Linked DNA regions of Homo sapiens: region 1 is linked to region 2. The links are contacts of gene promoters, found by promoter capture Hi-C in blood cells and fetal thymus (Javierre and others, 2016). All regions are on one chromosome and are shown on one strand. The core of a region is centred on a gene start or on the middle of the fragment in contact, and the rest is flanking DNA. Distances in the headings are between cores, read along the strand shown. Region 1 has its middle 130 kb from the start of SEM1. Region 2 holds the start of SLC25A13 (solute carrier family 25 member 13).

Region 1 (4,144 bases), core at 1,431-3,930, 520 kb before region 2:
TTCTAAAGTTAATTTTGTTGCCCCTAATTATGTTACAGAGTAATTGTAGAGACAAAATAGGGACCAGCTAAATGATGACATGCTTTGTAATGTGTAAAGCATTACATAAAGGCAAGGAATGAGGAGGGCTTGTTCAGTCTTTGTGTTGTCTCCTCAGCTACATAATCTGTCCCTCCTTGTTGCCTTCTTAGGTGTAGTACCTAAGTGTACTTAGGTGTAGTACTTGCTTTCATGGAAAGGAACCTATGGAAGTGACAATCTGCATGAACTTCTCAGAAAACTTGGCACATTAGGTCAGGTCACCCAATATCTTATGAATTGGTGTAGAGACCTTTGGAACTTTTCCAAGACCAGGAATAATACTGTGGTACCTTATCTGGCTCCCAACAGGGAGGAATGTGGTCAAATGCAACATAGGGCAGTGTCTCTCAAACACCTGCAGTGCAGTCCAGTCCAGTCTTTGCAGCTAGAACTCATTTCTGGATCTTTAGTCAAATGGATTATACAAATTAACAAGAGCCAGGATTTGATTTGAGCCCAAGAAAGAGTTTAATCACCATAGGGGCATGAACACAGGTCAGTGTAATAGTGGGAGCTGCTCACATCAAAAAAATCTCTATATTCCGTTTTTCACCAAAATCGAGGTTTTCAGGAAATCAATACAGACAAATAAACTCTTCTAGGACTTGCACCACTGCAGTTCATGGCCTCTAGTAGCTGCTGCGGCAGCAGCCTTAGCTAATAACACCTCACTACAAGCAGTTTTAAAGAGTGGAATAATATACGTTATATTTACCAGAGTTTGTACATTACTATTGTTCTTTCTCTCTCTAAAATGATTCTAAATTGGTACTTCTATGTCCATGCCAGCCCCTTCATTAATCTAGCTAGGAGGGCTGGTATACAATCTTTGCAACATCATTATCCACAGCATCACCAGGAATTAAAAATTCACTGTCATTGGAAATAAAAATGATCAACAAAATAATGCAAGACATAAATTCTCAAGCTTATGAGATAAGGTAAGAGAAGGTAAAAAATATAAAGTTAAGTTTGCCATAAGGTTCGTTGGGATATGCCTCTTTTGGGGTGAAAATAAACAATCCTAAAGAAAACTGGGTCTTGCAAAAGAAAATTGAATTTAATATTATTATAATTGTTGTTGATTGGGGGAAAATGTGACTTCTTTTATTAGTTTCATCTTGCTAGAAAAAAAACTTTATCTTTTTAGTTTCATGATAAACCTGATTTTATATTTGGCTATGTATAGATAAGGGAATTTTCAGAAGAGGGTATGAATTTTTCCTAACTTCCCTAATTGATTACTAGCTAGAATCTATATCTATGTCTGACTATCTTTCTTTTGAAAGATCTTTTTTATTCTCTTAATGTCCTCCACTTTTTATTAAAGTTTATCTTTTTCCCTTGCAAATTGGCAAAACAGATACAACATCAACAAACTTATCAAAATTATCTTTGAGAAACCAAGACCCAACAGGGAGGCAGAGTGATTGAATTGATTGTGCAGAGTTTGACAGAAGAAGGGATATTTCCAGATACGCCTCATATGAGAATGCCAACCAACATGGCCATCTACCAAACTAATAAATATTTTGCAAAAAATTCCTTTTTTAAGGCCCGTCTTGACACATAGGTAACTTGGTCATTTTTTGGTTATAAAGGGCAGAATGATTTCTTCAGTACCAAAGAGTCTGAAAACTACATACTCTGATGCCAACTCCCTTGTAAAGCAATTGCCATGTTGGAGGAGGGAACCATTATTGTTCACGGGAGCCAGATGTACCTGGTTGGGGGGAGGCTTTGGGATGCCAGGCACAGGATCAGGCTCTTGTTAGGTGTGAAGGGGTTCAAGCAGATCATGACAATTCACAAAGTGGAGAGTGAGCAAGAGGCAGAGTGAGCACAACATTCTTTTTGTACTCTGGAACTACAGAAAATGTGGCTAAATGTGCAACTAAGGTTTTAAAATTCAAGTAAATTGGAAAGAGTTCAAAGGAGAACAACAAGTTGATAAAGGGTTTGTATGTCAGCCTCTAAATAAAGGGTGCAGACTGCTTGGCATGTTCACTTGAAAGGAAAAAAACCTAAAATGAGGCATAACAGCCTCTAAGCACATATAGGGATATTAAACAAGAGAAATCTCAATTACCCTTATAAGTCATTAATGGGATTAAGCTTTAGGAAAGTCAGAAAATGTAGAATATTTGAAAATCATTCTCTTCTACAGACTCAAAAGGCAGAAAAAAGTAATTCCTGTAGTTCTCCAATCAAATTCTCAAAGTTAGAAGCTACACATCTAGTGTTGGATGTTTTCAACACATATGCGATGAAGAATATTTACATTTATGCCTCATGCCTAAATAACCTATTTGAATATATAGGCATTATGTTGATAAAAACCACAATTTGGGGAAAGGAGAAATACAAATTCATTATCCATGGGATTGACTTAAAATCTTAGAAACAGGCATAGATCATTAAAAAAGGAGCCAAGCACATTGATATATTAGTACAAATCAATGAAAAGAAGGTTAAGAAATAAGAGGAAATGAAATAGGATGGAAACCATGGGCTCTTGAGTACTCCCATAAAGGACAAAAGAAGTTTATTCATTGTAGAGAAGAGAATATAAATCACCTTTATAAATTCACTAAGGTGACCTAAAAGTTAATGTTGCAAAAATCTTAGACCTTTGCAAGAGTTCCCAAGCCTTGTGATGGCTGTGAAAAGCATGCTGAGAAAGCTACACTAATCATCTACAGTACTCTGGATTGTAGGGAAAGTCAAGAAAGATGAACAAACCACAATGAAGCTGCCGAAATGAATCTTAGAAGCCAAGCAGAGAGTGCGTAAAAAAATTGATCTTGACAGATGTGTCAATCAGATTGCAAGTATCTAAACAAATGCAAAATGAAACCATAAGAAAGTCACAAAGGAAAAACAAAATCAAAAGGTTTTGAAAACCCTACAGGATGCTATAGAAAGGAAAAGATATTAATACAAACCATTACAAAGGATGAGTCTGTAAAGCTGACCAAGATTACAAAGAGAATCTCTCTGGAGTGATAATGGTGAAAAAGGGAAACAAAGATGCAAGGATATGGGCTCAGGGTGGATAGTCAGAAGACTTTGAGGAAGCTTACCACATGCAGGGAATTAAAGAGAGGTTGGTCGAGAGAAAAGAATAAAACGTTATTAGGGAATGTGTCTCTTTGTGGCAAGTGCTATCTTCTGAATCCAAACAAGTAGATGAGTGAAGGGAAGATTTGCAGTTGGATGAAGAGCCTTTGAAAGGTACATCGCTGAATCGCAGAAATCAGGCCCTGGCAAATGCCTGTTGGGTAACAGAGTTCACTGTCTGTCTCGCTGCACTGTTGTTCCCAGCAGGTGGCTGGCAAATGCTATGTCCAGTCGGGTTCCTGGCCAGCAGGGCAGTCTTGTACACAGCAGGCAAACTTTCAATTACTATATAAAAAAACTGGACGTTAATACTCATGTATTAACCATCTTTGACAGACAGAATAGAAGTTTAGGCCCTTTGGAATAGCAGCGGAGAGTCTCTGGGAAAAGAGCTCAGGAGGACAGTGTATACTCACTGTAACTGAAATTGAAAACAGATAAAACACTAAGAGCCAGGAACAGAGGAAAATATGTGAAGGAATGGGAAGAACTAAGGGCTTGACCGTTTCTTAGGTGCCTCAGTGAAACTAAAGGTAGGTAGATGCTCAGTACAGCAGAAACCACTCAATCAACATTGACACTATCTCAAATGAAAGACTTAGGCATATAAAATCTAATCTGGGATGCTGATGAGTTCTCTTATGGCTAGTCCATGTGCATTTAATATTGTTACAGAAAAAGTATCATAATATAGTTCTTCCTGAAAATAATAGTGGGACAGAATGCGATCCTGATGTATATTTGTAGAATTTCAGTTTTCTTCTGGTACAAGCAACCACTTCTATTTTGCACAAGGAGAAAACAGAAGGAACAGTGCTCAAAGAAAATTTAAGGCAACAAATAGAGAGGGCAGGCATTTCCAGCCTCTTATGTAACTAGGGACTGAATTTTCTGAGGAAGTTGAGAAGAAGCAAACATCTTTAAAAATACTATTAATAGAAAA
Region 2 (4,146 bases), core at 213-2,712:
GGGCCAGACTCCTTCCACTAGTCGTGCCACTGCCCCAATCCCATAGCTCAAGATCAAGTTACCTTTTGATATGGTTTGACCGTGTCACTACCCAAATCTCATCTTAAATTGTAGTTCCCATAATCCCCACATGTCATGGGAAGGACCCGGTGAGAGACAACGGAATCATGGGGGCGGTTACTCCCATGCTGTTCTTGTGATAGTGAGTTCTTATGAGATCTGATGGTTTTACAAGGGGCTTTCCCCCCTTTGCTTGGCACTCATTCTCTCTCCTGCAACCCTGTAAAGAGGTGCCTTCCACCACAACTGTAAGTTTCCTGAGGTCTCCCAAACCATGCGAAACTGAGTCAATTAAATCTTTTGGTTTATAAATTACCCAGTCTCAGGTATTTCTTCATAGTGGCATGAGAATTCTCAGTATTCTTATTGAGCCCTGGGAACAGTCTGCTGCCTTAACAGGTTATACTGAAGTAAACATTTATGTGTCTCTTTCCCAATAGCCCTGAAGCTGTTTAACGGTTGGAACCAGTTCTTAAGTCATTTCGGGGTTTCCAGCACCAAGCACAGTGCCTAGCACATAGTAGGAAGGCACTCAATCAACGTTAATGAATTAAACTGATTAGTAATAAGTGCTTTTTGCTGCCATATTACATCCACAACCTACAATACATTAAAAGTCCTTTTCCCTGATCACCACTGTCTTATAAATTTTGATTACAAGGACAGAAGAATGAAATCCTGATGAAGAGGAGTAAGGCCTGGAGGTCATATAAGCAAATTTTCATTAAAATGCTTGTTTATTTATTTTAGTAGGGCCTATTTGGGGGAAGTCTTTTGACCCGGGCCTTTTGACTTCTACCGTTTTAACAGGTAGGGCTGAAATGGAGTAGTTTCATGAATATACGTTCTGCACTACATTCACTTGTTGGGTTCTTAAGAGTTCACCGATTTTGATCTAAAAGTAGGCGTGCCAGCAATATTTGCAATCTCGCCTTCTAAGTCAATGCTTTTGGATCAAAGTCTTTTTGGATCCAGTGTAAAGTGGAGCTCCTTCAAAGGGAACGCACAGGGGAAAAAATATCCAGCAAAGTATGTGTCCTAGTGGAGTTCTCAACTTCCCCAGGCCGTGCACCATCTGTCGTTACTTGCCCCTCCCATCGGTCCGAGGGCCCAGTAGCCCCTGGTATCAGCAGAAGCCAGCAGCTTCCCTGGTGGGGCCACCTGCCCTCAGGTGACGGGCTTGCACACGGCCAAGTTACCTCTGCCCACGCCGCAGAGGCCGCCGCTGCTGGACAGCGCAGCGGGGTCACGTGTCCCTGTCCAGCCACTGCCCCAGGATCTGAGCCCTCCCCGGCTGCAGGGCAGAGGCCGCTGGATCACGCGCACCCCGGCGGCCAAGGCTGGGCCCAGCCAATGGGCGGGCAGCATCCACATGACCCGCGCCGGCGGGAGGGCGTGGGGAGGCAGGCCAGGAACGCACGCTGCCTGGCCGTATCGCCGCCCCCACCGCCGCCGCCGCCGGGACTAGAAGTGAGCCGCCCGGGTCCCAAACGCCAGCCAGCCAGTCAGTGGGTCCCGCAGTCGCCCGCAACCGGGGCGAATCATGGCGGCCGCCAAGGTAACCGCGGGCCCGAGGCCGGGGGGAGCGCGCCTGCCGGATCAGCCTGGGGGTGCGAGAGGCTCGGGCGCTCACGTGTCTGGGTTGGTGCCACAGGCGGAGCAAAATGGGGTGCCGGGCAGCCGTTCCACCTTGCGGCTGCTGGAGGGAGGGGGCCACTCCTCCCGGGCAGCACAGGCGGTCGGTGCAGAGACCGAGGCCCGACCTCGCAGCGGAAACTTTGTGGGCCGGACACTCCCACTTGGCCGGGGAGGGAAGTTGGTGCCTGACGGGGCTGAGCCAGGGCCGACGAGGAGGAGCGGGCGCGACTGGGGCCTGGTGCACCCTGGGCCGGCAAGCGCTGGGGGTCCTCTCTACCTTCCCAGCGCGCTCCTGCTCCTGACCCCGCTGGTTGTTGACTCCGGCTTCTTCCAGGGGCCAGAGCCCGGGCTGAAGCCTGATCCTATTACGTTTCAAGGGCTCCGCCCTCCCGCGGGTGGGGAAGTTACTTTGACTTCCGTTTTGGAAACTGCCTAGGAGACTTGGTCTGCGCCTTTGTGAATAAAAAGTCCAGGGACTCTCCCCCTCCCCGCTTTCCCATCATTCCCATCTTCCCCCTCCCTCTCTCCATCTGACAACACTTAGATACCCGCCTCGGAGCATTTGAGAGGCTTCTTTTTGGGAACGATGAAACAGATTGTCCTGGGAGCCTGTCACTCCTGTGAAGTTGTACTTGAAAGGGGTTCTGTGTAATGTGAATCATTCACTAACCCAGAGGAAAGGCAACTCCAACACTTGACCTTTCCTCTTTCACCATTTCTTGAAACCTGGACACCATTTCAGTCTCTTTGGACTGCATTTCAACTTCTCTGGCAGAATACCATATTTAGTCCCAATCACTTGAATCATTTGGAATTTATTGCTTTTAATTTAAGTTCACGAAGGCAGCCCTCTAATCAAGCCTATACAACTTCTTAGCTCATTTTAAGTGCAGTGAACTTAAATATACCTAACATTTCAAACATTTGTCCTTAATCAAAACTCTGTGATAACCCTCAAGAGGAAAACATGGCCAACACATCATATTCCTATTTATTCAAGCAAACTAATCACATTTGCAATGGAAATTGTAAGCAGACAAATATATTTAAATGCTGTTCTATGACTTAAGTCTCTCCAGGCTCCCCAAATCCGTAGGCTTCTTCATGTTGTTAGTTTCTGTGGTCTAAGTGGCATTTCTCTTTTCTGTAATTACTCTGAGTTTCATCCTTAGGAAAGTACTCTGGGTGTGTGGGCTCATGTATGTTTGCATATGAACACACAGGTGTGCGTGTGTATATCTATCTATAACTTTTCAGCAGTTTCTCTGAGCATCACTAGGATTCAATTTTGGAAGCTGCCTTAACCCTTTCAAGCCCAATAGCCCTTGACCTTTTTTTTGCATTAAATTTGCATGCAACCAAGGTACAAGGCTTGGTATGAACTAATTCCCTAGAGTAGGTGGGACTAGGTACCCATTCTTTACTGTTAGTTTTATATCTGCAGGTAATGTAAATACTTTTACTTTATTAGGAGATAAGGTAATTGAGGAACATAAATTGAGACGTGTGCATAGAAATGGAGTATAAGACTTGAGTAATATTAAGTAAAATAAGTGACCTGGTGCTGTGGCTCATGCCTGTAATCCCAGCACTTTGGGAGGCTGGGGCGGGCGGGTCAGTTGAGGCCAGGAGTTCGAGACCAGCCTGGCCAACGTGGCAAAACCCTGTCTCTACTAAAAATACAAAAAAGTTAGCTAGGCGTGCTGGTGGGCACCTGTAATCCCAGCTACTCAGGATGCTGAGGCAGAAGAATCGCTTAAACTCAGGAGGCGGAGATTGCAGTGAGCCGAGATTGTGCCATTGCACTCCAGTCTGGGCAACAGAGCAAGACCCTGTCTCAAAAACAAATAACAACAACGACAAAACATAAAATAAGTGATATGGAAGTTAGTTCAACTCTTTGGTTGTACTTCTACATAATAGTAGAAGTGTCACATATCAAGGGCAGTTGATTTTTAGCTAAGTATTGAGTCAGGGAAAATGAAATGTTCATTTTTACTACTTGGGAGCTTGTGTTTTTGTTTATGTCTTCATTTGCACTCACCTCTTTCTGTGATATCTGATGGCTCACATCATATATACTTATTTTGCAATCCAATAAGATATATAAAAATCAATTCCAAGTAGATGGGAAAAACAGGACAAAGGGAAAGTAAGACAAAGCCAGGACTAAGGTTAGTGGAACATTATGTGCTTACTAGAGGTGATTGCATTTTCTCCCAGCCAAAGCAAAGAGGAAATGATCAGTGAGGTCATTTACTTGGGAGAGAAGTCTCCTTATACTGCTCTCTGAGAGCAGTTTTTTTTTTTTTTTTTTTTTTGAGATGGAGTCTTGCTCTGTTGCCAGGCTGGAGTGCAGTGGCATGATCTTGCCTCACTGTAACCTCTGCCTTCTGGGTTCAAGTGATTCTCCTGCCTCAGCCTCCCAAGTATCTGGGACTACAGGCA

What was found. The method cuts DNA at HindIII sites, captures the fragments that hold promoters and counts their contacts. A CHiCAGO score of 5 or more calls a contact.
Region 1: a contact is called between a fragment that was not itself captured here and the fragment with the promoter of SLC25A13 in region 2, in 1 of 17 cell types (fetal thymus). The highest score is 5.0, in fetal thymus.

Annotation. Positions count from the first base shown.
Region 1 is chr7:96,837,944-96,842,087 of GRCh38, reverse strand. No RefSeq gene overlaps it. Among named protein-coding and RNA genes, the nearest start is that of SEM1, 130 kb to the right of the region's middle. The HindIII fragment of the contact is 963 bases long and covers 2,199-3,161 here.
Region 2 is chr7:96,319,414-96,323,559 of GRCh38, reverse strand. SLC25A13 (solute carrier family 25 member 13) reads left to right here and starts at 1,462. Exons shown (of 18, transcript NM_014251.3): 1 at 1,462-1,618. The coding sequence starts at 1,604. RefSeq lists a silencer at 1,327-1,666. The HindIII fragment of the contact is 9,010 bases long and covers 1-4,146 here.